Regions from separate parts of the Homo sapiens genome. Here region 1 is linked to region 2. The links are contacts of gene promoters, found by promoter capture Hi-C in blood cells and fetal thymus (Javierre and others, 2016). All regions are on one chromosome and are shown on one strand. The core of a region is centred on a gene start or on the middle of the fragment in contact, and the rest is flanking DNA. Distances in the headings are between cores, read along the strand shown. Region 1 overlaps ZNF180 (zinc finger protein 180). Region 2 holds the start of ZNF230 (zinc finger protein 230).

What was found. Contacts are between HindIII fragments. The CHiCAGO score rates a contact against its expected background, and 5 or more counts as called.
Region 1: a fragment that was not itself captured here is called in contact with the fragment with the promoter of ZNF230 in region 2 in 4 of 17 cell types (naive CD8 T cells, total CD8 T cells, total CD4 T cells and 1 more); the score reaches 9.1 in naive CD8 T cells.

Annotation. Positions count from the first base shown.
Region 1 is chr19:44,474,299-44,480,715 of GRCh38, forward strand. It overlaps ZNF180 (zinc finger protein 180), which reads right to left. Exons shown (of 5, transcript NM_001278509.3): 4 at 4,985-5,111; 5 at 145-3,848. The coding sequence ends at 2,104. Among named protein-coding and RNA genes, the nearest start is that of ZNF180, 23 kb to the right of the region's middle. RefSeq lists a silencer at 2,880-3,080. The HindIII fragment of the contact is 5,031 bases long and covers 2,176-6,417 here.
Region 2 is chr19:43,998,149-44,004,283 of GRCh38, forward strand. ZNF230 (zinc finger protein 230) reads left to right here and starts at 4,809. Exons shown (of 5, transcript NM_006300.4): 1 at 4,809-4,959. ZNF230-DT (ZNF230 divergent transcript) reads right to left here and starts at 4,722. Exons shown (of 3, transcript NR_110727.1): 1 at 4,117-4,722; 2 at 375-1,084. It overlaps ZNF155 (zinc finger protein 155), which reads left to right. Exons shown (of 5, transcript NM_198089.3): 5 at 1-178. RefSeq lists an enhancer at 4,572-5,081. The HindIII fragment of the contact is 6,099 bases long and covers 1-5,002 here.

The DNA.
Region 1 (6,417 bases), core at 3,441-5,940, 480 kb after region 2:
GGAGACATGAGACTCCCTGAGGGCTGGTGGTGAAGAGATGGGAGACATAGGGGAGGATCCCGTGAGGTCTATGAGTGTCTCTGTAATTCCTGGGTGTGGCAGGCAGACTGTCACTGAATATGAAGAATGTTCATGGCTTATATATTTTTTATTTTTACTTTATTTTCTAGGTCTCATCATAGCTCATATATAACACTCAAAACATCATTAAACCATCTAATCTAATATTCGACCATATCATTTCTTTCTTTACACGACTTGTGAGATAAGTAAGATATCAGTTAAAATTTTCATTTCAGCATCTGTTTTTCTCATATCCCCTTTGTGCTTCTTAAAGATGGTTAAAATAGGACAGACAGACTTGGAACTTTGTTCAACTGTCTTAGGAAAAGACCATTGCAGGGGCACAGTCTTTCAACCCCACTGGCCATGTAAGACTAGGCCTGGAGCCTGGAACACATCCTTCCCAAGAGATACTGAACCTCTTTCAGACTCATTGAGGGTTCTTCAAAGTGTGGGTCAGTGGTCCCCAAGGGATGCCCGCAGCTTTCAGTATTTCACACTCCATGAAAACATCAGCAACTGTTTTCCCAGACCTGACACTGCCAGGTGTGCAACAATCTCTGGATTAATCCTCATAGAGATGGCTCCACTTAGGGTCATCTCATAGGGATAGAATTTTGCTAAGGATAACCCCATCAGTTACCCTTTAAGTTTTCTTTCCTATCCCAAGGGTATTAACCTCTATTATCTGGTCTCTCAGTTCAACTTTCAGCTTATTACCTTTCTGGGATCAGAGGCTTCAATATATGGTCATCCACAGGATTCAAATTCATGATTCAAGGGAAAGGTCAGAAAGACATGTTAATCAAATCTTAAATATCAAAGAGTAACTAAAACTTTGCCTCATGAAAGCATTTTTGCAAGCATAATTTAGACGGTCAGCACTGAGCCAGGGAAGCACCCTTCTATTCAGAGGACTCTCACATCAGGGAACATATCCCAGAGGAAAGAGACAATGCTACATGAGGGGAAGAACTAAAACATGAAAATAGAGTTCCTTAATATTGCTTTGCATATATGAAAATAAGCCCACTTGCCCTCTATACTTCCCACGCATTCTCAGTTCTTCATATGAAACCATTTCTGGCCAAAATTTCTAGTTACCTATTTCCAGGAATCCATTTTATTTTCAATGAGGAATGTTCCTAGGAATCTATGTCCTAAGTAGTAATCTGCTCATGCTATTCCAAACATAAACCTCATTATCCTGAGGGATCTTTGCTATTTGGTTGCTTAGTCTTTCCTAAATAGTCAAAGAAGGAAATCTTTGTATTTCATTTTTGGCTTTGAATAATTTTTACTCATTATATCATTTATCATAGCATAACAGCGTACATTCCAAAAAGGAAGGCCCAACATAAACTGAGAAATTGAATAGATACATCCATAATCCCTTTCTATTCTAATCCATACACAAATATTTTATCATAATGGTTTTAGAAGTGAATATTATTTCTATATTCTTTTCCCACACTTTTCACTATATATCATAGACACTTTCCTAAAATTTATAAAATCTTCACATGTAACAACAGCAAGTGCTGTAAGGAACAGATTACAAGCTATCTAATTGGAAGATCATGTAGTAAAATGATGCACTAAAATATGGTTTTCCAGCCTAAGTTCTAAACACTACAGCAACCTTTAAATTTTCTCAATAAGCCCACTAGTGTTAGCATTCCATTTACTCTTTATGGAAAAAGAGGTCTAACACTGGCAGTTGGCTTTGGCATATGATTTTCTCTGATTCAGGTCTGAGTGCTTTCTGCAAGGAAAAGTGCCAGTATTTATTATTTTCATAGGAATATGTCATAAGAATCAAGTTTAACATTGTATATGGAATTGCCAGGTTGAAAAGTCGTTCATAGACTTTCCCCCTTTCTTTTCCAGAACAAATTTGAGACACACAATTAACAGAGGGCTGGAAGTTTTCCCACATATATTGTTTTTATAGTAGTTCTTCCAACTACATGTACTACCTTAAAATAAATTTTTTAAAAGAATGAAATAAAAAGGAAGAAATCCCAGCTGATTTACAAACTAGTTACATTCATAGAGTTTCTCTTCAGTATGAGTTGCCTGATGCCTAATAAGTTTATAGCTATTAATGAAAGCTTTTCCACACTGAATACATGTAAAGGGTTTCTCTCCAGTATGAGTTCTTTGATGCACAATAAGTCGAGCACTCAAGCTAAATGTTTTTCCACACTGATTACATTCAAATGGTTTCTCTCCAGTATGAGTTCTCTGATGTTGAGTAAGGCATGAACTCTGTCTGAAGGACTTCCCACATTGACTGCATTCATAGGGCTTTTCTCCAGTATGAGTTCTCTGATGTACAACAAGAACATAACTCTGGCTGAAGGATTTCCCACACTGATTACATTCATACGGTTTTTCCCCAGTGTGAATTCTCTGATGCATAACAAGGTGAGAACTGCGGTTAAAAGATTTTCCACATTCACTACATTCATACGGTTTCTCTCCAGTGTGAGTTCTTTGATGTGCAACAAGCTGAGAGCTCCAGCTGAAGGATTTCCCACACTGATTACATTCAAAGGGTTTTTCTCCTGTGTGAGTTCTCTGATGAGCAACAAGTTTATAACTTTGACTAAAGGATTTCCCACACTGATTGCATTCATAGGGTTTTTCCCCAGTATGAATTCTTTGATGTGCAATAAGTTTATAGCTCTGGATAAATGATTTCCCACATTGATTACATTCATAGGGCTTCTCTCCGGTATGTGTTCTTTGATGTGCAATAAGTTTATAGCTCTGCCTGAATGACTTTCCACACTGATTGCATTCATAAGGCTTCTCCCCAGTATGAGTTCTTTGATGCACAACAAGGACATAACTCTGGCTAAAGGATTTCCCACATTGATTACACCTGTAAGGTTTCTCTCCAGTATGAGTTCTCTGATGGGAAACAAGGTGCGAGCTCCGGCTGAAGGATTTTCCACATTCACTACATTCATAAGGTTTCTCCCCTGTGTGAGTTCTCTGATGTGCAACAAGATGCGAGCTCCAGCTGAAGGATTTCCCACACTGATTACATTCAAAAGGTTTCTCTTCAGAATTATTTCTCATGTTTTGAGTAAGGGAGGAACTATGAGAGGTTTCACTACATTTATATTGACTCTCTTCAAAAGGAATTCTCTGTTGTTCATTATGGGATATTTTGGGGTTCAAAACCTGCCCACATTCTTTAAAATCAAAGGTTTTTCCTCCTCCATGAATTTTTTCATGTATATGTAGGGGTGTACCATGGCAAAAAGATTGAATACGGTCACTAAATCCATAGGATTTATCTTTTGTTTGAGTTCTTGTAAACTGAATAAGGTGAATGCTCTGAGGGGGTTTTCCACATTCATTATTTTCATATAGTGTCTCATTCTCATTAATCTTCTGATGACTGTTTACAGCAGCATTAAGATGCCATTTTTTAGCATGTGATACATGTTTATGAAAATGGTTTCTTATGGGTATAACTGGGGATGAAAATAGACTGGAATTCAGACCACTCTTCTCCCCAGTTTCATCACTTTTGCAGACTCTCTCATGAATAACTGCTTTCCTTTGAGTGAATGCCACTTCCTGCAAAAGTATCTCTTGTTTTTCCTGTTGCTTCTCCAACTGGTCTTTACAATCATCCACTTCTTCACATGAAGATAACCAAGGATCATCCCTTGTAAACCTTTCTATCTTCACTCCATTAGCTGGTTCTTCATCAAAAATCCTCTGCTTTGAAGTTGAATCTTTTTTTCCAACTGCAGTTGCCAAGTCTGAAAGAAAGCAATATAAGACATCTTAGTCAAAAAATATTAGAGATGGAAAAATGGAATAAAGCTAACAAGAAAGTATGAAAAATATATATGAATTTGTTTTCAAATACTGACCGATAACCTAGGTTGAAAAAGCAAAAGGGTGAGATAAAGTATTAAGTACAGAACTACCACAGCCCAATATTACAACAGAGCATTAAAATGGAACTATTGTAATCTTGGTTTAATCTTAGTCTGAATAAATAAGACTCTGGATGTCAAATACCTGCATATTCCAAAATAAGATCATCTACATAGAACCTACAGAATTGCAACCCAATTTTGCAATATGTATAGAGAGTCTTTTCCACTCTTTAGTGCTACACAGATGTTCACTAAGAGATTAGTGTCTACATATCCAGGAATTTCTGAAGGCATAAAACTTGCTAAATACTCTACTCTGTGTCAGTGAGGCATGAGGAAACTATGTTTGTGAACAAAAGAAAAGGAATGGGGCATTATTATCCAGTTCCCTAACTACCTTAGGAACCAATAAAGCCCCACAAATTTCTGTGATTCCAACTGAGAGAGACTAGAAGTTTGCTCCTAGTAGCCTGGGTGGCTACTAGGTCAAGCAATAGAGAGTATATATGGAAAAAGTAGTCATGTATACAGTCCACCAGGAGGTGGGAAATGAAGAAAAAATGTGGCATCTTCTATGCGGATTTTTTCAAATGGACCTTCTACACCTGTAATGACCCCTATGTGTCTGGTTCTCACTTGAACACATGTATTGGAAAATTCTTTTTATATTCTTTCCCTTGCTCCAACTAGGAGATTGTATCTGCTTCAAAAAGCTGACAAGGAAAGATACAGGAATTTGAGTTTTCAAAGCTGGGGACAAAAGAAAATTACTGCAGAATCTGGTCCTGGCCTTTGGTCTTTAGGAACATGAAGACTGAAAATCTCAAGCCCAAGAATCTGCACTATTTCTACCCTACAAACTAAAATTAATCTTCACTGGGGAATAAAGAGCACAAACACAATCTAGATGCAGCCAAAATCATTCTGGCTGCTGAATTTCACAGTTCTTAATCGATCAGAATGTGAAATCATTTCAGTAGATGGATCTTCATTAAAGAGGAGTGTATTCTTACCCCAAGAGACTAGGTCCCTGTGGTTCTCCAGGATCACATCTCTGTCCAGGGTCCTCTGAGCAGGGTTGCAAGTACCCTGTTCCTCCCGTGTGAAGTCCACAGTCACAATTTTGAAGTTCACTCCTTCCTAAAAAAGGACACACATTCCTGCTCAGCTGGGCATCATTTCCTTCCAAAGTTCATGGAGGAGGAAAAGTCTGACAGATGGAAAAAGGAAAATTGGTGACCTGGGAGTTGTCCTTAAATTGTCAGTGCCCAAAAGATTCCAGTCAAGATGTACAGGTGCCTTCTGGGTGAGCTCTTTGGGTTTTGGATGCTGGACCTGTTTTTACAACTCCAAAGAGGAATACCAGATAAGAACTGATATAAACTATTTTATTTTGTCTGCCTTAAAAAGGATGCTTATTCTGACTTTTGCACTGGTGAATATAGAATTCCCACTTAGGAATTCCCTCTAAATTCCCAAGAAATTAATGAAACAGGGGTGGTTGATTTTTTTCTGTCAAAGGCCAGATAGTAAATATTTCACACTTTGCCAGCCATACAGTCTCTATCACACTACTCAACTCTGCTGCTATAGCAAGAAATTAGCCACAGAAAATATATAAACAAATGGGTGTGGCTACATTACAATAGATCTTTATTTACAAAAACAGCCACAGGCTGTACTTTGCTAATGCATGAGACAGAAAATGAAATGTGGACCTCGATGAAAAGCAGTATGTATAGGTGAAGAACACTGGATGTAGAAGATACAAAGACTTGGCTTTCTCACCTATAAAGGGCATATATCTGCTTAAGAAATACATCTAATCTGACAATCTGTCCTTTTTTTTTCTTTTGAGACAAGACCTCACTCTGTTGCCCAGGCTGGAGTACAGTGGCACAATCATGGCTCACTGCAGCCTCCATCTTCTGGGCTCAAGTGATCCTCCCACCTAGTCTCCCAAGTAGCTGGGACTACAGGTGTGCATCACCGTGCTTGGCTAATTTTTAAAATTTTGTAGAGACAGACCCTCAATATATTGCTTAGGCTGGTCTCAGACTCCTGTGTTCAAGGAATCTTCCCATCTCAGACTCCCACAGTGCTGGAATTACAGGGATGAGCCACCACACCTGACCCAATTGTCTTTCCCTGGCGAGTTTATTCCATTTCTATTTATTAGGCCTAATAATACCTAAATCATTGGGTTGAATGAATAATTACGATGATCTATGAAAAGCCACTAGCAGAGTTTACTGATGAAACAACGAAGGCCAGCAATTACAGGCTGAGTATCCCATAGCTAAAATACTTAGGACTGGAAGAATTTTGGATTTCAGATTTTGAAATATTTGCATTTACATGAGATGCCTTGAAGATGGGATCCAAGTCTAAACACAAATTCATTTATGTTTCATATACACCTTAAACATATAGCCTAATGGTAATT
Region 2 (6,135 bases), core at 3,559-6,058:
CCAGACCAAGCTGAATCACGCTTTCTCCAAGACAGCCCGCAGGCTAAGTGCATTCCTTCCCCTTCCCAGTCCATAAAAACCCCGGACCCCAGCCTCATACTGGGCAACTTATTTGGATCCCCATCTCCACTGTGGAGAGCTTTTTTCTTTCACTTATTAAACTTTTACTCCAATTTCACCCTTGTGTCTGTGCTTCTTAATCATATTGGACGTGAGATTAAGAACTCCGGGGGATAAGAGAGACTGTTACAGAGAGACTGTTACAGTGTGGTGCATTTGTGAGACTACAACACATTTTTAGCAATTTGTAAATAATTGTTGATGATAGTCACCTTTAGTGCTGCAGAACAGTAGAACTTATTCTTCCCCTCTACCTCTTTTGTATCTGTTGGCCAACCTTTGGCCATCTCACCTACCTCCTACACTTCCTTGCCTGTCTACATCCACTGTTCTACTCTCTACTACAAAATCAACTTTTTTTAACTTCCATATGAGTGAGGACAGTCAGTATTTCTCTTTCTTTGCTTGGCTTATATTAACAATGTCCTTGAAAACTCATCCATGTTGCCACAAATGATAAAATTTTGTTTCCTTGTTATGTCTAAAGAGGATTCCATTGTGTATATATGCCACCTTTTCTTCATTCATGTATTGATAGACACTTAGGTGGATTCCTTATCTTGACTATTGTGAGTAGTGCTACAATGAACCTGGGAGTGCAGATATCTCCGTGACATACTAATTTCCTTTCCTTTGGATATACCCAGTAATAGAATTGCTGGATCACTTGAATTTTATTATGCTTCAGAAGCTCCACACGGGAGAGAAACTACGGAAGTATGAGGAGGGTGGTATGTGCTTCATTCAGGCCTCAAGTCTTCAACTTCAGAATGTCCACATTGGAGAGAAGCCTCAGTAATGTGTGTAATAAAGTCTTTACTCAGTTTTCATGACTACAGTCTCACCTAAGCATTCACAAAGGGGAGAAACATTAAAATATGAGGCACATAGAAAGCAGTTCCTTTTGAGTTTGTATCTTGTAATTTATCACAGAATCCATGCTGATGATACATTTCATCCAGTCCTGTAGGAGAAAAAACATTTAAGTTAAAGCCTGTTTCAGCCATAGCTCAGCATACCCCAGTGGTCCTGGGACTGTCACAGTGGAGAACCCTTGTAAGTTGTGCAGTAGGGCTTCAAACAAAAGTTTGACAGTTACAGTTATTCAGGAGACAGACCTTAAGAGTTCATTCATGCATTTACAAAACGAATCATGAACATATCAAAGTTGATTACCACTAGAATGTCAGTGACATGTGTTTTCTGCTGCATCTTCACAACTTTAACACTGATTATCACTTTGTGTTCACTATGTGTTAAATGAATTAAAAGGAGCAAACGCGATGTTTTTAAATTGTATCTAAGAGAGGAAATCTACAAATAATTCAGGGACACCTGAGTTGAAATGCAGAGTACACTAAATACTGCAGTTCACAGCATTATTTTGATAATATCTGTTCACACTTGGTTCCTGTCTTCCCCTCCTCCTCTATTCCGAAGTTGCATTCTTAGTATTTGTGGCTTTGTGTAGTGTTCCATTGGTTGAATACAATATAAATTCAACAATAATTTGTAATTTTTCTCACACTACAGGCTGAAAACGTTGTAATAAATTCAATAAAACATCTTAATAAATTCAAAAGTTTAATACCATAAAAGTCTTTTCCAATTATAATCTAGATCACAAAAGCTGAAATTCAATCACATCATGAAAAGTGGAAAATTCACAAGTATGTGGAAACTAAACACACTCTTTATATATATATGTGTATATATATGTATGTATATATATGTATATGTATGTGTATATATATGTATGTATATATATGTATATATGTATGTGTGTGTGTATATATATATATATATATATATATATATATATATATATATACCCACCCTGTGTCCAAGTGTTCTCATTGTTCAATTCCCACCTATGAGTGAGAACATGCGGTGTTTGGTTTTCTGTCCTTGTGATAGTTTGCTCAGAATGATGGTTTCCAGCTTCATCCATGTCCATACAAAGGACATGAACCCATCTTTTTTAATGGCTGCATAGTATTCCATGGTGTATATGTGCCACATTTTCTTAATCCAGTCTATCATTGGTGGACATTTGGGTTGGTTCCAAGTCTTTGCTATTGTGAATAGTGCCACAATAAACATACGTGTGCATGCAGCACACTCTTAAATAATATGTCAGAGTACATCAGGAGTGAAATTAGGAAATACCTTAGACAACTGAAAATGAAAACAATGGCCAAAACTTTTGGAATGAGGCAAAAGCAGTAGGAGGAGGGAAATTTATATCTGTAAATGCTTATATTAAAGAAGAAAGATCTGACATCCACAGCCTAATTTTATTTTCATGAACTAGAAAAGGAGAATCTTACAGAAAGTGATTAGGAGGGAAATAATAAAGATTAAAGTATTAATAAATAAAATACAGAAGAAGAATACAAAGAAAATCAACCAAACCAAGAGTTGATTATTCTGAAAGACTAACAAAATTGTGAAAACTTTAGCAGGACTGACTAAAAAAGACTCAAGTAACTAAAAGTGGGGACATTATTACCCATTTTTACAGAGGTGAGCCACAGCGCCCAGCTTCATTTTTGTATAAGGTGTAAGGAAGGGGACCAGTTTCAATCTTCTGCATATGGCTAGCCAGTTATCCCAGCAGCACTTATTGAATAGGGAGTCCTTTCCCTGTTGTTTTTGTCAGTGTCATCAATGGCATGGTTTGGATGTGTCCCCACCCAAATCTCAGCTTGAATTGTATCTCCCAGAATTCCCACATGTGGGAGGGACACCACAGAAAGTCAGAATTATTAATTAAAAGGGAAACAGAACTAAGAATTTTAAAAATTCACAGCCTATCTACTTTGGAAAAAAAAATTAGAAAACCTGTTCTGGATAAAACAACGGTAGAGATAAGCAACTGATTTAGGAGATTAGTTTGGATTGGTCATGTCAACAGAAGCCAGGACCTGCTGTCCATTAACACTGGAAGAATGACCCCAAAGGCATCTAGGAGATCATAGAGGCTGCTCCTCCCAACACAGACCCAGAGTGCACGGACCTGGGAAGCAGAAGGGACCTTTGATGCCAAGTGCCCCTAACCTTTTAGGCTCAGTTCCCTGCATGCTACGATTGAGTGTGTCAATACATCTTATCTTTCGGGAAGGCAGAGTAGATCAAGGATACAGCTATAACTGGCATATGAATAGTGATCACTCAATTTTCAGAGAGCGGATGTTTGGCATCAAAAGTTTGGCACAGTCACCTTATTTTTGTGTCTAAACAAAATTTTGAAAAGTTTTTAGTTTAGAAAAATAGGTAAACAGTAGACTCCATTTTTTTTAAAAAGAAGAATATTGGTTTATAGGCCAATGTATGTTTATAGGGAGAAAAAAAGTTACCTTCAAAAGAGCAGGTTTTTAGATGAATTGTTTCCTAATTTAGCTTTATACTGTTATTATTTTTTAACCAATGCCAGTTTTTAAATTGCTAACTATAATAAAGAAATTATGTTTCACCAAGAAATAAGAAGAAACTTAAAAAAAAAAATCTTTAATTATTGAGGTATCTGTTGCCTAGGCTGGAGGGCAGTGGTGGCATCATAGCTCACTGCAGCCTCAATCAAACTCCTGGGCTTCAGCAATCCTCCCACCTCAGCCTCCTGAGTACTTGGAACTTGTAGTCCCAAGATCAGGCCACCATGCCTGGCCAGTTAAAAAAAAATTTTTATAGAGACGAAGTCTCCCTGTATTTCCCTGTCTGGTCTCCAATTCCTGAGCTCAAGGGAACGTCCTGCCCTGGCCTCCCAAAGGGTTGGCATTACAGGTTTGAGCCACTGCGCTTGGCCAGGAAGAAAACTCTTTATAAGACATGCTCCTTCACCTATAGAATCCTCCCGTTTTACTGCATTTACAATCTCAATGTAAGATTGATACCAATGCCTAGCTCTTCATCAGTCATTATTGCTCTGAGGTACTGAGCAATTCACTACATTCGCTGAAATTTGATGTTTCTACATCTAAGGAGAAATATGAATACCATGAAAAGTTTATGGGAAGATAGCTATTCCATGACGACACCGCTTCTCCACTAGTAGCTGTGATCTTAAATGGGGGTGGCTTTTCCTGCCAAACCAGTGGTCCCACAGCTTCTGGAGTAGGGGCTGGTGTCTTCCTGCTCCTCATTGCCCCTGCCAAACCATTCCACCTGGCTCATCCTTTAAACCGTTAGTTTTAACCTCCCATCGTCAGATTATCCTAATCCTTGAAGATTTTATCTCCTCGTTTGTTCTCTTCCCAATAACACTCCTGTCATCGTGGGAGGCGTTTAGACTTCAGGAATTCCTGTCTATACACTATTTTCGCTCAAAGACTCAGGAAGAGAGACGGACGACTCACAGGGTCACAGTCCACATTCCCCACCAGGCGCTCAGAGATATGGAATACGTTCCCGGTGGGCACTGCGGTGTGTGTAGTCAAGGACCACCGCGGAGTCCAACGCTTCCCGCTGAAGAGTGAGATTATAGACATTTTCCTTTGGCATTGGAGGAAGCGGAGTCCAGACACACTCTGAGTCGCGGGCAAGTTGGCTCAGGCGGGTGGACGAGTGAATTCTGGGAACTGTAGTCCATCAACTTCATGGAATGGCGGACCCTTTGGCTCAAGCAGTTGAACCGGGGAATTCTGGGAAGTGGAGTCCAGACGCTCTGTGGAGACGCGAGCACTTCCGGTGTGTGAGCCTGCGGTTGCTACATAACCGCGTAGTTTGAGCCATTTCTGCGTCTGGCGGGTCCTTCTGAACTTGTCACCTTCGCTTGGGGTCGCAACGACCCGATGATCGATGATCCAAGCAAGGGAAAAGAAGCCTTGGCGGAGAGCGGAGGTTTGGTGGGGGCGGGGAATGGGGTTTTTTTCCCGTCCACGGAAGCTTTCTGGGATGGGGGTGCTGTGCTCGCATCCCGGGGGTTGGAATTGGCGGGGTCCTCTGTGCCCTGCTGTGAGCGTTTCCAGGACTTTGACCTCGCTCAGCCTGCCTCTCTCCACCCTACCTGTGCGACCGCTTTCTCGCAGTGTGACGTGGAGTGTTACTCAATGTCCTTATACTTTCCATTGCTGTTTTTGGTAATGGGGACATTAGAACCATCCTAGTAGAATCGTTTTTGGGAACTGAAAGAGATAACGCAAATGAGAACCTTAAAGCAGTCCCTGTCACTTGGTGACTGGTGGTCTCTTGTTAACTTCCCGAAGAGGTCAGGTCCCCGGGTGGAGTCATAGCTTCAGCTGCAGGGGCCCTGGTCCTTCTCCCTAATCCCTGCAGGACGCTGGATGATCCCGGGAGGCCTTCTGACCTCTTTTTAGGAAAGCGAGTTGCGTCCGCTTCCACGAAGGGCGGGGAGCATTTAACTTTTATGGGGGACCGCGATGCAGTCAGGGTATTTCACAACTTTCGCCTTCCCCAGCCTGACCTTTCTAAAAGAGCTGCAGGGAGGGGACTTCTTGGCTACTGAGGGCAAATCTCTATGTGATTGGTCCTTGGCTTTTTTCCTTTATAGAGATGTTCACCCAACCGAGAGTGTGTCCTCGGGAATGGGTGTTGATAATCATTAAGCCGTAATTGGTAACTTCATTCTAAGTGCTTTATACAAATAAATTTAGGCCACACTGTGGCTCTGTGAAGTATTGCTTTTCTTTGTTTTAAAAATGAGAGTGAGACACAGGGTGCATAGCAGCCAACTAGTGAGAGGTAGAGCTGGGGTTGGCACCTAGGCAGTCCAGGTCAGAGCCTGAGTTGATCACCTCTTGGATACATTCTCATTGAGGCAGAGGAACTAGCTGGACTCGTAGGGAAAGCAAGTTAGGACCTGATTGAAAGGACGTTGAGAGCAAGGCTCGTGGGCTTGGACGTCTAGGAATTTTTAAAAATTTCTCAACTATTTTGTTTCATGTTTTCCAAGTATTTCGTACTGTTGTGGAACTGTATCATTGTGGAAAAGTCTGAAATAGGAGAAATGAGAGTAGAAAAAGTTTTTTAATTACCCATGTATCCAAGATGTAAAGG